Regions from separate parts of the Homo sapiens genome. Here all the other regions are linked to region 5. Evidence: promoter capture Hi-C in 16 types of primary human blood cells and fetal thymus (Javierre and others, 2016). All regions are on one chromosome and are shown on one strand. The core of a region is centred on a gene start or on the middle of the fragment in contact, and the rest is flanking DNA. Distances in the headings are between cores, read along the strand shown.

Evidence for each region. Contacts are between HindIII fragments. The CHiCAGO score rates a contact against its expected background, and 5 or more counts as called.
Region 1: a contact is called between a fragment that was not itself captured here and the fragment with the promoter of PSMD2 in region 5, in 16 of 17 cell types (M2 macrophages, M1 macrophages, M0 macrophages and 13 more). The highest score is 24.9, in M2 macrophages.
Region 2: a contact is called between a fragment that was not itself captured here and the fragment with the promoter of PSMD2 in region 5, in 6 of 17 cell types (endothelial precursors, M1 macrophages, M2 macrophages and 3 more). The highest score is 7.2, in endothelial precursors.
Region 3: a fragment that was not itself captured here is called in contact with the fragment with the promoter of PSMD2 in region 5 in 3 of 17 cell types (M0 macrophages, M1 macrophages and erythroblasts); the score reaches 5.3 in M0 macrophages.
Region 4: a contact is called between a fragment that was not itself captured here and the fragment with the promoter of PSMD2 in region 5, in 4 of 17 cell types (M1 macrophages, endothelial precursors, M0 macrophages and 1 more). The highest score is 10.4, in M1 macrophages.
Region 6: a contact is called between a fragment that was not itself captured here and the fragment with the promoter of PSMD2 in region 5, in 3 of 17 cell types (M0 macrophages, M2 macrophages and M1 macrophages). The highest score is 6.3, in M0 macrophages.

Annotation. Positions count from the first base shown.
Region 1 is chr3:183,899,051-183,901,750 of GRCh38, forward strand. It overlaps the pseudogene CYP2AB1P. Among named protein-coding and RNA genes, the nearest start is that of MIR4448, 14 kb to the left of the region's middle. The HindIII fragment of the contact is 4,315 bases long and covers 1-2,700 here.
Region 2 is chr3:184,012,772-184,015,471 of GRCh38, forward strand. It overlaps ABCC5 (ATP binding cassette subfamily C member 5), which reads right to left. Exons shown (of 30, transcript NM_005688.4): 2 at 1,493-1,676. The coding sequence starts at 1,621. Among named protein-coding and RNA genes, the nearest start is that of ABCC5, 3.8 kb to the right of the region's middle. The HindIII fragment of the contact is 931 bases long and covers 853-1,783 here.
Region 3 is chr3:183,840,338-183,843,037 of GRCh38, forward strand. PARL (presenilin associated rhomboid like) reads right to left here. Exons shown (of 10, transcript NM_018622.7): 6 at 1,961-2,110; 7 at 233-303. Among named protein-coding and RNA genes, the nearest start is that of MAP6D1, 16 kb to the left of the region's middle. The HindIII fragment of the contact is 311 bases long and covers 1,208-1,518 here.
Region 4 is chr3:183,918,806-183,921,505 of GRCh38, forward strand. It overlaps ABCC5 (ATP binding cassette subfamily C member 5), which reads right to left. Exons shown (of 30, transcript NM_005688.4): 30 at 1,129-2,596. The coding sequence ends at 2,495. Among named protein-coding and RNA genes, the nearest start is that of MIR4448, 33 kb to the left of the region's middle. The HindIII fragment of the contact is 1,722 bases long and covers 489-2,210 here.
Region 5 is chr3:184,297,791-184,300,490 of GRCh38, forward strand. PSMD2 (proteasome 26S subunit ubiquitin receptor, non-ATPase 2) reads left to right here and starts at 1,451. Exons shown (of 21, transcript NM_002808.5): 1 at 1,451-1,611; 2 at 2,061-2,117; 3 at 2,490-2,654. The coding sequence starts at 1,477. RefSeq lists a silencer at 1,119-1,458. The HindIII fragment of the contact is 6,965 bases long and covers 1-2,700 here.
Region 6 is chr3:183,939,048-183,941,747 of GRCh38, forward strand. All of the region lies in intron 25 of ABCC5 (ATP binding cassette subfamily C member 5), which reads right to left. Among named protein-coding and RNA genes, the nearest start is that of MIR4448, 54 kb to the left of the region's middle. The HindIII fragment of the contact is 7,094 bases long and covers 1-2,700 here.

The DNA.
Region 1 (2,700 bases), core at 187-2,686, 400 kb before region 5:
TCAAGACCAGCCTGGCCAACCTGGTGAAACCCCGTCTTTACTACAAATTAAAAAAAAAATAAAAATAATAAAAATTAGCTGGACGTGGTGGCACGTGCCTGTAATACCAGCTACTTGGGAGGATGAGGTGGGAGAATTGCTTGAGCCCCGGAGGTGGAGGCTGCAGTGAGCTGAGATCACACCACTGTACTCCAGGGCAGTACTCGGGGCAGAGCCAAAGCTCCTTTCCGAGGAAAGTCTCAGGGCTCCCGCCACCACCTCTATGTACAGAGGCATCACCCTGCACCAGGGCACCAAGATGAGTCGCTCTGTTTCATTTTCATTAAAATGGCAACCTCACCACCTACACATGTTGGTATGTTACCTGTTGCGGGAAGTCAGGGACCCCGAACGGAGGGACTGGCTGAAGCCATGGCAGAAGAACCTGGATTGTGAAGATTTCACGGACATTTATTAGTTCCCCAAATTAATACTTTTATAATTTCTTATGCCTGTCTTTACTGCAATCTCTAAACATAAATTGTAAAGATTTCATGGACACTTATCACTTCCCCAGTCAATACCCTTGTGATTTCCTATGCCTGTCTTTACTTTAATCTCTTAATCCTGTCAGCTGAGGAGGATGTATGTTGCCTCAGAACCTTGTGATAATTGCATTAACTGCACAAATTGTAGAGCATGTCTGTTTAAATGATATGAAATCTGGGCACCTTGAAAAAAGAACAGGATAACAGCAATTGTTCAGGGAATACGAGAGATAACCTTAAACTCTGACCACCGATGAGCCGGGTGGAACAGAGCCATATTTCTCTTCTTTCAAAAGCAAATGGGAGAAATATCACTGAATTCTTTTTCTCAGCAAGGAAGATCCCTGGGAAAGAGAATACGCGCCTGGGGGTATAGGCCTATAAACGGCCCCCCTAGGTGTGCCTGTCTCTTATGGTCGAGGCTATAGGGGTGAAATAGACCCCAGTCTCCCATAGCACTCCCAGGCTTATTAGGAAGAGGAAATTCCCGCCTAATAAATTTTTGGTCAGACCAGTTGCTCTCAAAACCCTGTCTCCTGATAAGATGTTATCAATGACCATGGTGCCCGAAACTTCATTAGCAATTTTAATTTTGCCCCAGTCCTGTGGTCCTGTGATCTTGCCCTGCCTCCACTTGCCTTGTGATATTCCATTACCTTGTAAAGTACTTGATGTCTGTGACCCACACCTATTTGCACATTCCCTCCCCTTTTGAAAATCCCTAATAAAAACTTGCTGGTTTTTGCGGCTTGTGGGGCATCACGGAACCCACCGACACGTGATGTCTCCCCCAGACGCCCAGCTTTAAAATTTCTCTCTTTTGTACTCGTCCCTTTATTTCTCAAGCTGGCCGACGCTTAGGAAAAACAGAAAAGAACCTACGTGACTATCGGGACAGATTCCCCGATAGTTACCCCAGTTAGCCTTGACTCCCAGGATACACACCTTTGTGTAATCCCCTCCCCTTGAGGATAGGATGGATTTAGTAACTCACTTCTAACAAATAGAAAATGGGCCAGACGCAGTGGCTCATGCATGGAATCCCAGCACTCTGGAAGGCCAAGGTGGGAGGATCACTTGAGCCCAGGAATTTGAGACCAACCTAGGCAACATGGTGAAACCCCATCTCTACCAAAAATTTAAAAATTAGCCCATTGTGGTGGCACAATGTGGTGCCTGTAGTTCCAGCTACTCAGGCAGCTGAGGTGGGAGGATCACCCAAGCCTGGGAGGTTGAGGCTGCAGTGAGCTATTATTGTGTCCCTTCACTCCAACCCAGGCAACAGAGGGAGACACTGTCTCAAACCAACAACAACAACAACAACAAACCCAACAAATAGAATATGGCAAAAGCGGCCGGGTGCGGTGGCTCACACCCGTAATCCCAGCACCTTGGTAGGCTGAGGCAGGCCAATCACTCGAGGTCAGGAGTTCAAGACCAGCCTGGCCAACATGGTAAACTCCATCTCTACTAAAATATACAAAAATTAGCCAGGCATGGTGGCACATGCCTGTAATCACAGCTACTCGGGAGGCTGAGGCAGGAGAATTGCTTGAGCCCAGGAGGCAGAGGCTGCACTGAGCTGAGATTGCACCACTGCACTCCAGCCTGGGGTGACAGAGCGAGATTCTGTCTCAAAAAAAAAGAATATGGCAAAAGCAATGGGATATCACATCTAAGATTAGGTTACAAAAAGACCATTGCTTCTATTTTGGGTGCCCTCTTGCTTGCTCTCTCTGATGGGGTTCAGCTGCCATGTTTTGAGCTACCCTATGCAGAGGCCCATGTGTCAAGGAACTGAAGGTCTCCAGCCAACAGTTCATGAGCAACCGGGTCCTGAAGACCTCCATGTAAGTGAGCTTGAAGTGGAGCCTCCCCTAGGGGAGTCTTCAGGTGACACTGTAGCCCCAACAACAACTTGATGGTAACCTCATGAGAGACCTTGAGTCAGAGGCATCCAGCTGAGCCACACCCATTTTCCTAACCCTCAGAAACTGTGAAATGATAAATGCTGTTGTTCTAAGCCACTAAGTTTTGGGGTAATTTGTTACACAGTAAGATAGGTAAGTAATTCAACATCTGTCATCTAGGATCTGCAAGGCTCCGTCAACAATACAGAGCACCATTGTACCGAATGACACCGTGGGCACAAAGCCCTCAGCACACAGCAAGC
Region 2 (2,700 bases), core at 68-2,567, 290 kb before region 5:
TGATTACATTAAGCCTGTTTCTCTGAAGTTAAACCTGAATGGAAAAGCATTCTATAATACACAGTAGGGTACAGAAAAGACTCATTAGCAAGAAAATGTTCATTAATAAAGCAATGGCTTTAACACAACCAAAGAGGGAAAGGTAGTATCAGGCTAAGGAAAGGCCAGTGTCAGCTGCAAAGTCCATTATCTTTCTCAAATTTTCACATAACAAATACACCAACAAAAACCTCAACTTCCTAAACCTAGTCCATTCTGCCTTATTAGGTACTTTTGTAAGAAAAGGTATAATGCTTTTTTTCCTCAGGAAAAAGAATATTTTCTCGAGGTAAAAACGCATCTTCATTATTTCCCTTGGAGGAAATTAGATTATTATCTAAAGACTGCTTAACTTATGAATTCGCTTGAAAAACATACTGATAATCCCACAACTATCTAGAATTGTTCTGAAATCTGAGTCTCTCCAAAGGATTCACATTTTATTTTATTTTTTATTTTTTTGGAGACGGAGTCTCACTCTGTTGCCCAGGCTGGAGTGCAGTGGCGTGATCTTGGCTCACTGCAACCTCTGCCTCCTGGATTCAAGCAATTCTCCTGCCTCCCTCCTGAGTAGCTGGGAGTACAGGTGCCCACCACCACACCTCACTAATTTTTGTATTTTTAGCAGAGACAGGGTTTCACCGTGTTGGCCAGGCTGGTCTCAAACTCCTGACCTCAAGTGACCCACCCACCTCAACCTCCCAAAGTGCTGGGATTACAAGCATGAGCCACTGTGCCTGGCCAGGTTCACATTTTAAACACACATGACAGAAAGTAGAAGAAAACACCAATTTTGTTTAGGTACATGAATGAAGCTTAATTGGCTTTATATTCCCTGTCATTGACCCCATGACCCCCTCCCCCTCAATAAGTTGTCTTCTGTTAAGTATAGCCTTTTCAGAAGGCACCAACATAGAATAAAAGTGAAAAAGAGGAGAATGCTCAGAACAGACCGGGTGAGAGGGTGACAGCCAGCCTCTCTTCCACTTATTGAGTGCTTACTATGGACCAGAGACTTATCAATAACCATAAATTCTTAACAGTAACCTAAAGCCAATAAAGAAAAACACATTTTTTTTTGAGACTGAGTCTCGCTCTATCGCCCAGGCTGGAGTGCAGTGGCATGATCCCAGCTCACTGCAACCTCCGCCTCTTGGGTTCAAGCGATTCTCGTGCCTCAGCCTCGCAAGTATCTGGGATTATAGGCGCCCGCCACCACGCCTGGCTAATTTTTGTACTTTTAGTAGAGACAGGTTTTCACCATGTTGGTCAGGCTGGTCTCGAACTCCTGACCTCAGATGATCCACCCGCCTCAGCCTCCCAAAGTGCTGGGTTTATAGGCGTGAGCCACCGCGCCCGGCCAAAAAATAAGTTTCTAAATTACCCATTATACGAAAAAAGATGTGTTTTAGTACAACAAGCAGGTAAGAGACTCTTAGGAAAGGAAACTGACCGGTCGAGTTCTCCTGAACTTGGAATCTTCACGGTCTCTGTGCGTCCCAGAAGTGCTGGTTCTCTCCCTCACACTTCTATACCCAGGACTGGGGATGATATACTCTTTTCCTATGTCGATATCCTTCATCTTCTCTGAGTGGAGGTTCCAGGGCTCACAGACTGTTAGTTTCACATCAGAATTCCTGAAATTAAAAATTCATCAAGAAATAGATTATTTCCTAAACAGTACTTAACCATAAGCTCAAGTGCCTTAAAAATAGGAAAAAAAAAAAAAAGGCAAAAGTACTAAAGCTTTCTACTGTTATAGCTACAAAAATTAATTTTCAAAAAAAGTTCAAAGATTTTGATTTCATTTTTTTAAAGAAAAAGATTCAGTATAAGAGAATCAAGAAAAATTACCTTCTCCCAACTCTAAGGGAAAAAAAATTAGAAACAGTAAACACACTAGTAAAGAGACACCCATTCTCTTCAACTAAGCTCAAATCCAGTGTATACAATAGAAAGGTTGGTTTTTTTTTTAAAGACTTTCTAGAAACAATTTCAGTTTGTCCCAAGTATTAAAAACTCCACAATTTTAAAGTGGACATCATTTCTTCTACTAAATTTTACTAAATAAAAACTTACCAAACACTTATTCTACCAATGATATATTCCATCTCTGCCTTTTTATAATTAACTAATGGGTTAGCTGGTGTTATTTTAAAGCTCCATGAAGTTATCCAGTTAAAACAATGTTATAACTTAACTTCAAACACAAATTCCCTGGGTACTGAAAATGTTCTAAAACTAGATAGTGGTAATGGTTGCACAATGCAGTGAATACATTGAAAAAAAACACACTGAATTTATACTTTAAAAGAGTGAATTTCATGTCATATAAATCCTATGGCAACAAAGCTGTTAGTAAAAAACAATAACAAAAACAAATTCTCCACCCTGTATTACTAAGTCTTACCTAGTTTTTACCTGAAACTCTATTCTAAACCACTGCTTGCCTGGCTAAGTCTAATCAATATGCTGTATCAACTCAGGTCACTTAAAAACAAAAAACACATACATACTTCTCCAAAATGTTTCCCCCCTCTAAGAAGGGTCACAGCCTCCCAGAGACAAGCTGAGAAAACACCTTTCATACTAGCCTCCAACGGAAATTAAAGACGTGTAGCCGTGTCGCCTTCTGGATTCCATAAATCCCTGGCTATCGCT
Region 3 (2,700 bases), core at 113-2,612, 460 kb before region 5:
CAATGGTTAAAAGCTATAGCCGGACATTTACAAAGCTTTACAAATGTATAAATTCTAAATTAGTCAACTGTATTGTTTCAATGTTAATTTCTTGGTTTCGATGTTAGTTAACAGTAGGGTGAAGGGTATATGAGAACCTCTTATCAATTTTACAACATTCTTCTAAGTCTAAACTTATTTCAAAGTAAATTTAAAAATTAAATTAAAAAAAATTTACAATAGAAATACTTACTGCACCAAGTGATGGTCCATATCTTCCTGTGGCAACTTTACCCACGTAACTGACAAAATTGGAAATAACACCTGAAAAACAAGTCACATTACAATAATTTAAGTGAGGTATAAAAATGGTTTACTTTTTTTTTTCTTTTCTTTTTTTTTTTTTTGAGACAGAGTTTCACTCTTTCGCCCCGGCTGCTGAAGTGCAGTGGTACAATTTTGGCTCACTGCAACCTGTGCCTACCGGGTTCAAGTTATTCTTGTCCCCCAGCCTCCTGAGTAGCTGGGATTACAGGCGTGCGGCACCACATCCAGCCATGAAAATGGTTTTCATTTCTGATTTCTACACAGATAAACAGTGTCGGGTTTCAATCTGGATCACTGTGAGGGTACGGGCATGAATACTTCTCCTGCCTATCATTTCAGCGACTTTACAGGGGATGAAAAGTCTGACCTGCTGCATGATCTGCTGAGCGACACGGTCATTCACTCCACTTCTCAGTTACCATTTTCCTCAACTATAACATGAAGACTCATTCCCAAGAGTATATTCTCTGGCTGTACTCCAGACACACGAAATCAGAATATCTGGGGTGGGACAACAGACTGGATGATCCCGTAAGTCTCTTTGGCTTCAGTGCCATTTGAGTCAACGTGGCTCATTTTTAAAAACCTCCTATGGAGCAGGAATTAATGTATCTGAAACAGACCCTCTGTAACTACAACATAACTAGTGCTTGGGAAAGAACTATACACTTATCTTACAAGCCAAACACAATGCTCAGCTTCTTTTTTTGAAGGACTAGATACACATAAGTATTCGATGAACACTAATTAAGCATCTACTCTGGGGCTTGTGGTAGATGCTTTTATGTAGTCCTTTCTTTAACCCCTTGTCATGAGGAGGTAAGTATCATGAGGTTTAGTCATTTTTGCAACATCACTCAGCTGGTAGTAGAAATAGGATCTGAACCTGGGTCTATCGCCAAGCTTAGTGTTTTTCACTACATCACAGCACAACTGCCAGATATACTGTTTCTAAATGTAGAGATTTTAGAAATTAATTTTTATATTGTATTAAGTAAGTACATTTTACAAACAGAGAGGTAAGTAAAATTTGACCAACTGTCACGTTAGCAGCATCTAGGGACCTGGATTCATGCATGAGAATTTCCTAACTGAAATAAGAAACGATACCATCTTCAAGACCATGGCTAGGAAGTGGTTCCCTGCTACATTCTTGCAAAGAAGACAGAACAAACTCACTCTTGACAATCATATTGTATAGCTCTGATTTAAAGCTTTCTGTGAACTGAACACACTGGGGGAAATGAGCTTGCTTAAGGTTATTTAACAAAGACCCAGGAGATTGAGGCAGCCGGGAAGTCTGGGAACCACTATCTATAAAATGGAGGGCCTAAACTAATGAAATCAAGGCCCGATGAGATTACAAAAATGACATGCTTAAATTCTACACTAACCCTTACTTAACGCCTGTTTATCCTAACTTAAAATTAAACATACCCACATAATTCATATGTAAGAAGAAATCAGCAAAATGAACAGAAAAGGCAACATCTCCACCAATCTGTGGCTCCCTTCTCTACATACACTGTGAGAAACAAATATGTTCTGAGCACTCACTACGTGTAGAATATGGCAGTAATCATTCCCTTTGTCCGTTCTGCAGATAGCTTAGAGTGCTTATACTCTCAAAGGCCCCGAGATTAAAGCATATTACCTGCAGATAGGTACACTGCCATGAACTGCTCTTGACCCAGAATGTTCACTATGCTGGAAGAGAAGCTCCACAAAACATACATATTTGCTGCCATGTGAAATAAGGAGAAATGACTGAATGTTGACAGCAACATTGGAGAACAAAGGACCTCTACAAGAGAGAGAAACATAGTCTGGTAATCATGAAACACACAGCCAATAAAAATTATCCATTTTAAACTTTTAAAATTAGGCCGGACGCAGTGGCTCACGCCTGTAATCCCAGCACTTTGGGAGGCCAAGGCAGGCGGATCACTAAGTCAGGAGTTCAAGACCAGCCTGGCCAACATAGTCAAACCCCATCTCTATTAAAAATATAAAAATTAGCCAGGTGTGGTGGCGCACGTTTGTAATTCCTGCTACTCGGAAGGCTGAGGCGGGAGAATCACTTGGACCCAGGAGGTAGAGTTTGCAGTGAGCCAAGATTGAGCCACTGCACTCCAGCCTGGGCCATAGAGCGAGACTCTATCTCAAAAAAAAAAAAAAAAAAAAAATTTATGAAACAAACATGGAAAACAAAAACAGCTATTTTTAAGACTTTTTTTTTTTTTTGGAGAGAGTCTTGCTCTGTCGCCCCAGGCTGGAGTGCAGTGGCACGATCTTGGCTCACTGCAGCCTCAACTTCCTCAAGTTGAGGCTCAAGGGCTCAAGTGATCCTCCCACCTCAGCCTCCTGAGTAGCTGGGACCACAGGTACATACCC
Region 4 (2,700 bases), core at 100-2,599, 380 kb before region 5:
GTTTGGTTACTGTGGTAAACTGCTGAAAGTCTGGGCTTGTTTCTTACACCTGTTAGCCTACTCTACTTGGCAACAGAGAATTATGAGCTGGGAAAGCACAAAATGGCAAAATGGAAATTGCTTTTAAAAATCCAATTTAGGCTGGGCACAGTGACTCATGCCTGTAATCCCAGCAGTTTGAAGGGTCTCGTTCTGCTGACCTTGTTACCTTCTTGGAAGATAAATCTAGTGCCTCAGTAAAAGTGGTTACCGTTTAGATTGGAGCTGCCCAACAGAACTTCCTGCAATGATCGACACGTCCTATATCTGCACTGTACATTACTATGTTGTACAGGTCGCATACAGCTACTGAGCGCTTGAAATGTGACACTCTAGGAACTAAAGTTTTAACTTTAGAGTCAAGCTCCTGGGTTCTCACGACAGCACAGGTACTTTAGAAAAATTAGTATAATTTCTACTGATGGCCAGCAAACTAATACCAGTTTAAAAGCTTTCTTGGCTGCATTCAACACAATATAGTCAGAAACTTTAGAATGAGTACCCTTTGCTTTTTTTTTTTTTTTTTTTTTGAGACGGAGTCTCACTCTGTCGCCCAGGCTGGTGTGCAATGGCACGATCTCAGCTCACCGCAACCTCCACCTCCGAGTTCAAGTGATTCTCCTGCCTCAGCCTCCTGAGTAGCTGGGACTACAGGTGCCTGCCACCACACCAGGCTAATTTTTGTATTTTTAGTAGAGACGGGGTTACTAATTTTCAATGGGTGAATCTGAATGAATTGGCTGAAAGGGTAATTATATTGTTTGAATTGCTAAGAATCCTCGATAAACTATTCATTTTAAATACATCTCACCACGACCACCCACCTCACCACAACCACTCACCTTTCCACTCCCCACCCTCTTATGGGCAGCCAAGGAGCTTTATTTGGGGACCATGTCCAGGAACACAGGCAGCGGGACTAAGGCCCACAGAGATGATTCCAGGTGTTCAGGGCCCCATGGCCCTTGCAACCAACCAGCTTTGCTACCAGTCCTTCCCAGATGCAACTCCATTGCTGGATATGCAGGTCCCAAAGCCATTCAGGGATATCTCACTCCCTTCCCAGAGAATTGTTTGATACACGAAGAGTTTTACAAAATCCAAAATAATTTTATTCACATTTTCAGATTTTTGCTTCCACAAGGTGTTCAGCAAACATGCTAAGGCGACAGAATGTCTAGTTGGTCACGACATGCAACGCTGACCATTCAATTGATGACAGCAGTGACCACGCCCACCTGAGCTACCAGCCCCACAGCACAAAGGGGGTTTGCGGGAACACACCAAACCACACAGCAACCAGCAACCTGAGGTAGGTCTCTTTACAGTACAAAAACTTCTACGCCAGTGTGAGACACTGATTAGCAAGAGCTGCTTAAAGTTGCAGACTTTGAGGGGAGAGAGAGAGAGAGACTGTGCGACGACTGCGGTGAGAAAGGAAAACAGACCCACGAAATCCTGAGCCCTGCCACTGAACTGTGGAGGTGTGGGAATAGGCAAATGAAAAAGTGCCACCTCAAAAAGCAGCAGTTGGCTCCAGGGCTTGGAACCAACAGGTCTTGGAGCTGGAGAGCTCTGTGCAGTGGCCAGCCATAGGAACCTGAGGCAGTGGGACTCTCTGTGGATAGACTGATTCTTGTTTAGAAACAACAGCAAAAAGAAGAAGGCAGGAAAGAAACTCCCCGGCTCGGAGGAATGTCTCTGTGATCCCCATTCTTGATGGAGGGAGTGAAAAGGGGCCTGGGCTTCGCCCCGCTGCTCTCCTGACAGAAACAGTAAGTGACACCAGGACAGAAGGCAGGAGCCCTGAGAACTCACGGCGCTCTGCATGGTCTCCAGCCGCCCACCCGTCTCCAGCCACCCCTGGAGCGGCCGTGGGGAGGCGGCAGAGGGGGCTGTCGGAGGGCCCACTATTGCCACACGTCTTCCTTTGGACACCCAGAAAACCTGGCACCGTGAAACCACCAGCTAGAGAAGAATGAAATGCTACTCTTCCTACAGTCTAATAGCAAAACCAGATCTCTAGTACAGCAAACTGTACAAAAATGATAGAAAGGAATATGCACTGTTATTAGCACAGTGCTTATTTTAATATAAAATAAACAGCTTACATTTTCACTGTAAATATAGGCTATGTACAGAATTATATATAGATATAGCTACACGTATAAAGCTTCATTATAGGCCTCTGATACAATTATAATAACGGTTCCCTGAACCTTTTAGAGTGCAATTAAGAACAAAAACTAAATTTTGTTTACATGAATATGGAATAAATACAATAATCAAAATATGACTCTCCCTAAAAGTGAAACACACAAGCCAATCCGGAACTGCTGTGCGAAAGATAAAATCGAGAAAGGCAAGGTTTCGGTAGGAGGACGCGATGAGGGGCCCGCCCCAGGCAGGGAATGGCAATGCTCTAAAGAAAAGAGACTTCGTCAACAGGGAGGAGTCAGCCCTTGACAGCGACCTTGTTCTCTGCAGCAGCAAACATGGCATAGAATCGGGAACTGTCGTTGGACAGAAGGACCGATGGGGTGTCAAACTCCACCACCTGCAAAAGAAGGAGACGCCGTCAGGACACAGCTCTGGGTCATGCAGGGTGATTCAGAGGATCCACGGCTCAGTAAGTGCCAGTGCCCTCTGAGGGTAGAATCT
Region 5 (2,700 bases), core at 201-2,700:
AAATACAAAAATTAGCCGGGCGTGGTGGCACAAAAATTCAACAGTCCATAACTGTTCTGCCTATTCTATCTCTGGCTTCACGGTGTCCATACATTTTCATGCTTTCTTCAGTCATCTGTAGAGGGATTTTTTTCTAAAACTCCTCTTTATCCAGCTACTCGGGAGGCTGAGGCAGGAGAATCACTTGCACCCGGGAGGCGAAGGTTGTGGTGAGCCGAGATTGCGCCATTGCACTCCAGCCTGGGCAACAGGAGAGAAACACTATCTCAAAACAAATAAATAAAATAAAAAATAAATCCTCATTTTACTACTTGATATGATCTTCTCTGTAAAATGGACCTAACCCTACCAATCTCAAAAGATTGTAAGAAGTGCATGGAATCACTCGAAAGCAGTCCTGACATAAGCGCGTCAGTCACACGCCTCTAAGGCTTCACAGGGAAAGACGAGAAGATAGAGGACGAAGACCTTGTCTTGTTCTGCTTTTAGCTCCAGAACTTGGCGGGGAGCACAGGGCTTTATTGATCGATGTCAACTCCACCTGGCTCCCCAAAGTATTTAAAATGGTAGCCACGGGAATAGCAGAGTACTCTCTTTCAACTGGGGAGGAATATCAAATGAGGTTAATAGGCCGGGCGCGGTGGTTCACACCTGTAATTACAGCTCTTTGGGAGGCTGAGGCGGGCAGATCACTTGAGGTCAGGAGTTCGAGACCAGCCTGGCCAACATAGTGAAACCCCCGTCTCTACTAAAAAATACAAAAATTAGCTGGGCGTGGTGGCGGGCGCCTGTAATCCCAGCTACTCGGGAGGTTGAGGCACGAGAATCACTTGAACCTGGTAGGCGGAGTTTGCAGTGAGCCGAGATCGCGCCACTGCACTCCAGCCTGGGCGAGAGAGCGAGCCTCCTTCTCAAAAGCAACAACAACAACAAAACCAAATGAGGTTAATATTCCACAGTGGTGTGGGGCTAGACACAGTTACACAGACTTTATACAGGCGGCAATCAAGCGTCCTGGACGTCAAGAAATCTAGTTTGTCTGTCGCGCCACGCAGTCAACTGGAGTGTCACTGTGGGTTCTATTTACACCGTTATGAGAAAAACCTGTGGCGGAGTAAAACTCGGTAACTCCGCTCGCAGACCGCCCATCTACAGCAGTGAGCGAACCCAAACCCCACACGGCCAAGTCCCGCGGGTTTCAGGAAACTCCGAAGAGGTCGGGGGCCAGGGGCGACTATGGCGCGGGGGAGGCTGGGAATTGTAGTCTCCACCTGCCTCCGAGGGCGGGGTCCGAGGGCGGGGCTCTCAGGCCGAGGGGGTGGGTGGGTCGCCGAGCGCCCCGGCTCGCCCCGGCGTTTCCGGTCGCAGGCGGGCTCTGGAGGAGGAGGGGCGCCGCGACCGACGCGCGCGAGTTGGTCTGGGAAAAAGGGCGGTGCGAGCGGGTGCGCGCGCAGCGGGCCGGCAGTGGCGGCGGAGATGGAGGAGGGAGGCCGGGACAAGGCGCCGGTGCAGCCCCAGCAGTCTCCAGCGGCGGCCCCCGGCGGCACGGACGAGAAGCCGAGCGGCAAGGAGCGGCGGGATGCCGGGGACAAGGACAAAGAACAGGAGCTGGTGAGGCGCGACCCCGAGAGTCGGCGAAGGAGGCTGCGGGGCTGAGTCACGGCGGCTCCGCAGGCCTCAGGCCCGACACCCAACTACCCCACCGCGCCAGGGAGAGGGCGGTTGGGGCGACCCTCGGGACTCCCGGCACCTTGCCTCTCTGCTCCTCATTCTCCGTTCCGCGCTGTCACCTCCGCCGTCCCCACCAACCCTCACCACCGCCGCGTGAAGTGGACTCGGGCAGGTCATTGTCACCTCCGTTTCCTAGAGTGGCATTCAAGTAGAGCCTGATTCAGAACCCAGGCTGATTTCTCACCAGGGCTTCCCATTCCCACTCGGTTTCCTTGTCCACCTGGCCCCTCCTAAGGAGGCAGGCTTATTCTTCACCTGCCCCGGGTAAGTGGGAGGAGGACGTCTTTGGGATTCCTTCTCTTCATGAGCTGCTTCTCCCAACCCTCCAGTCTGAAGAGGATAAACAGCTTCAAGATGAACTGGAGATGCTCGTGGAACGACTAGGGGTGAGTCACGATGTTAACATGATTCGGTGCATGTTTGGATCTTTCCCACTTGTTTTATTCTTTTTTGAGGCAACTGCTATGTACGGTGGACTGTATTTTAGGGTCAGTGTTATGATGATGTTGGGAGGCAGGAGAGTTACAAAGGGTATTTGTACAGTTTTGCAGCTTTCTCTTGTGGGAGAAGCAGAGTTCTTACCTCTTAACTTGGGTCATTTGTTTTTGTGCCAGGCAGGGTGCAGGGAGTTGAGGAATCACAGATGAATGAATAAGACACAGCATTTCCTTGGAGGAGTTGTTAAGTTAAATATCTCTGTATTATGACTTGAAGGGGTGTGACTCCTTTTTGTCTGAGCCCTGTCGTCTCTTGATCAGGAGAAGGATACATCCCTGTATCGACCAGCGCTGGAGGAATTGCGAAGGCAGATTCGTTCTTCTACAACTTCCATGACTTCAGTGCCCAAGCCTCTCAAATTTCTGCGTCCACACTATGGCAAACTGAAGGAAATCTATGAGAACATGGCCCCTGGGGAGAATAAGGTAAAACTGTTTCAAACCTGGTGGAGGCCTAGTTTAGGAATTCCTT
Region 6 (2,700 bases), core at 148-2,647, 360 kb before region 5:
CACTTCTATCATTTTAGGCACACTTCCTTTCGGTCTTTCCTCAGAGTTGAGATCATATCAGAAATGCAATATTGTAATTGCTTTTTTCACTTAACACTGCATTGGCCGGGCACGGTGGCTCATGCCTGTAATCCCAGCACTTTGGGAGGCTGAGGCGGGCAGATCACCTGAGGTCAGGAGTTCGAGACCAACCTGGCCAACATGGTGAAACCCTGTCTCTACTATAAATACAAAAATTAGCTGGGCAAGATGGCGAGTGCCTGTAATCCCAGGTACTTGGGAAGCTAAGGCAGGAGAATCACTTGAACCTGGGAGGCGGAGGTTGCAGTGAGCCAAGATCGTATCATTGCACTCCAGCCTGGGCGACAGAACGAGACTCTGTTTCAAACAAAACAAAACAAAAGCATTGTATAACACTCAGTCAACCATCTTTTAAAAAAATTTTCAAGATAAAATTTTAGTGGTTGCATTCCATCATGTGCATGTATTCTTGTTCAGCCAGCCCTCTAAGGGTCAACATTTAGTTTATGTAAAACTTATAATAATGTTATGTCCTATTATCTTAGTGCTGAAACTTTACTGCCACCTCAGACAATTTCCTTGGGAAAGAATCTTAGAACTGAAATTACTGTGTCAAAGGATATAAACATTTAAAAGGTGCTCTCTCTACAGAGCCAAAAAGAAAAGAAGTTTGCCATAGTCCTGTCTACCTTTCTGCAACTTGGTTCCATGGTTTAGATTTAGAACTACAGGGTTTTAGCTGTTGAATCACTTTTCCTTGGCTGTACGCCTGGTTCTTGACCCTCCTACCTTTCTCGTGCCACCATGTCATGAAAGACCTCTTGTGAGGGCCTCATCGAGATCACCACGATGCTGTCTCTTCAGCACTCATGGAGGGCGCAAACAGCCTGCCTTGCCCCAGTGTCTACAGCCACGACCCCACTGTCGGGATCTACCCCCTGGGCATACCTCTGTCTAACAGCCTAATGGGAACCTGAAAAACACCCATAAGACTTGGAAGAAGTAACGCCCAGGAAACTTGGAAAAAGCTGTATTAGGACCCATCTTCCTAATGCAACAATCCTCACATCCTTCTACCAGAAACGAGTTAGGAAACCTGGTCCGTCTAGCAGGATAGTTCTCCTCCTAGAAATGAGTGACTCCAGGCCGGTGGGCGCAGCGGTTCACACCTGTAATCCCAGCACTTTGGGAGGCCAAGGTGGGTGGATTACTTGAGGCCAGGAGTTTGAGACCAGCCTGGCAAACATGGCAAAACCCTGTCTCTACTAAAAAATACAAAAAAAAAAAAAAATTAGCTGGGCATGGTGGCATGTGCCTGTAATCCCAGCTACTCCAGAGCCGAGATTGCACCACTGCACTCTAGCCTGGGCAACAGACTGAGACTCTGTCTCAGGAAAAAAAAAAAAAAAAAAAAAAAAAATGAATGACTCTGTTCAGGGTTGGGGGACTCAGTTACTGGCCCCTTTCCCAGATAGGAGGGGAGGAGACATTCCCTCTGGGCCGAGGCAGGGCTTTAAGATCTAAGCTAAGGAAGGAATGGTGCCCGAAACAATGGGTCAAGTTGTTCCAGTTTAACAAAAGGTGCCTAGGTTTGGACCACCTGGACTGGAAGACTTTAGAGTCCTCTGAATCTGACTACCTTTGCACTGATGGAATGTGCTGGTAAGAAAGGCAGTGAAGTCCTCAAGATGGTGTCCTTGACTGACATGACCACAGGAGAGTTTCCAAGTTACCCGTGAAACTTGGAAGAAGCCCTATTAGAACCGGAGTGTAAATCAGGTTATTATTATTATTATTATTATTATTTGAGATGGAGTTTCGCTCTTGTTGCTCAGGCTGGAGGGCAATAGCGCAATCTCAGCTCACTGCAACCTCCGCCTCCTGGGTTCAAGAGATTCTCCTGCTTCAGCCTCCCGAGTAGCTGGAATTACAGGCATCCACCACCACGCCCAGCTAACTTTCTGTATTTTTAGTAGAGATGAGGTTTCACCATGTTGGCCAGGCTGGTCTTGAACTCCTGACGTCAGGTGATCCACCAGCCTGGGCCTCCCAGAGTGCTGGGATTACAGGCGTGAGCCACTGCACCTGGCCACTATGTTCTTTTTCTTGTTTCTCTTCTGTCACTAACTACTGTTTAATGAAGTTGTGGTGCTTGTTTTGGCCTATCTCACCTGTGTTAAAGGGAAATCATAACAAAGGACATCAGTCAGCTTTCAGGGGAGCAGTGTACCCCTGGGGACGAATGCAGCAGATGGGCTCAAGGGAGAGAACAGTAAAAAGGCTTGGGGAGAGTCACCCTGCTTGGCTAAAGATTCCCTTCCAGCATGAAAGACCTGGAGCAATGTCTTGTTTTGACGTGAAGTAATTCCCTCAAACAGAAAGCAGGAAATGGCTTTTTCCTTTTCTTCCTTAGAAAGTTCTTTAAAATCAATTGGCCAGAAAAGACAAAAGGTTTTTTTTTTTTTAATGGCAAGGAAAAAAGCTAGAAGAGTTTTGATGCCAAAGAAGCATGGAGCCTAGAAAACTAATGAAAACTGAATCAAAGATACCTCTTATACAAGGATAAAAAGGACAGTAAAAGAAGACAAGTTCAGTCTTTGGAATGCAATTCAGGAACGAAAGTGAGAAAAAAGGGGCCGGGTGCGATGGCTCACACCTGTAATCCCAGCACTTTCAGAG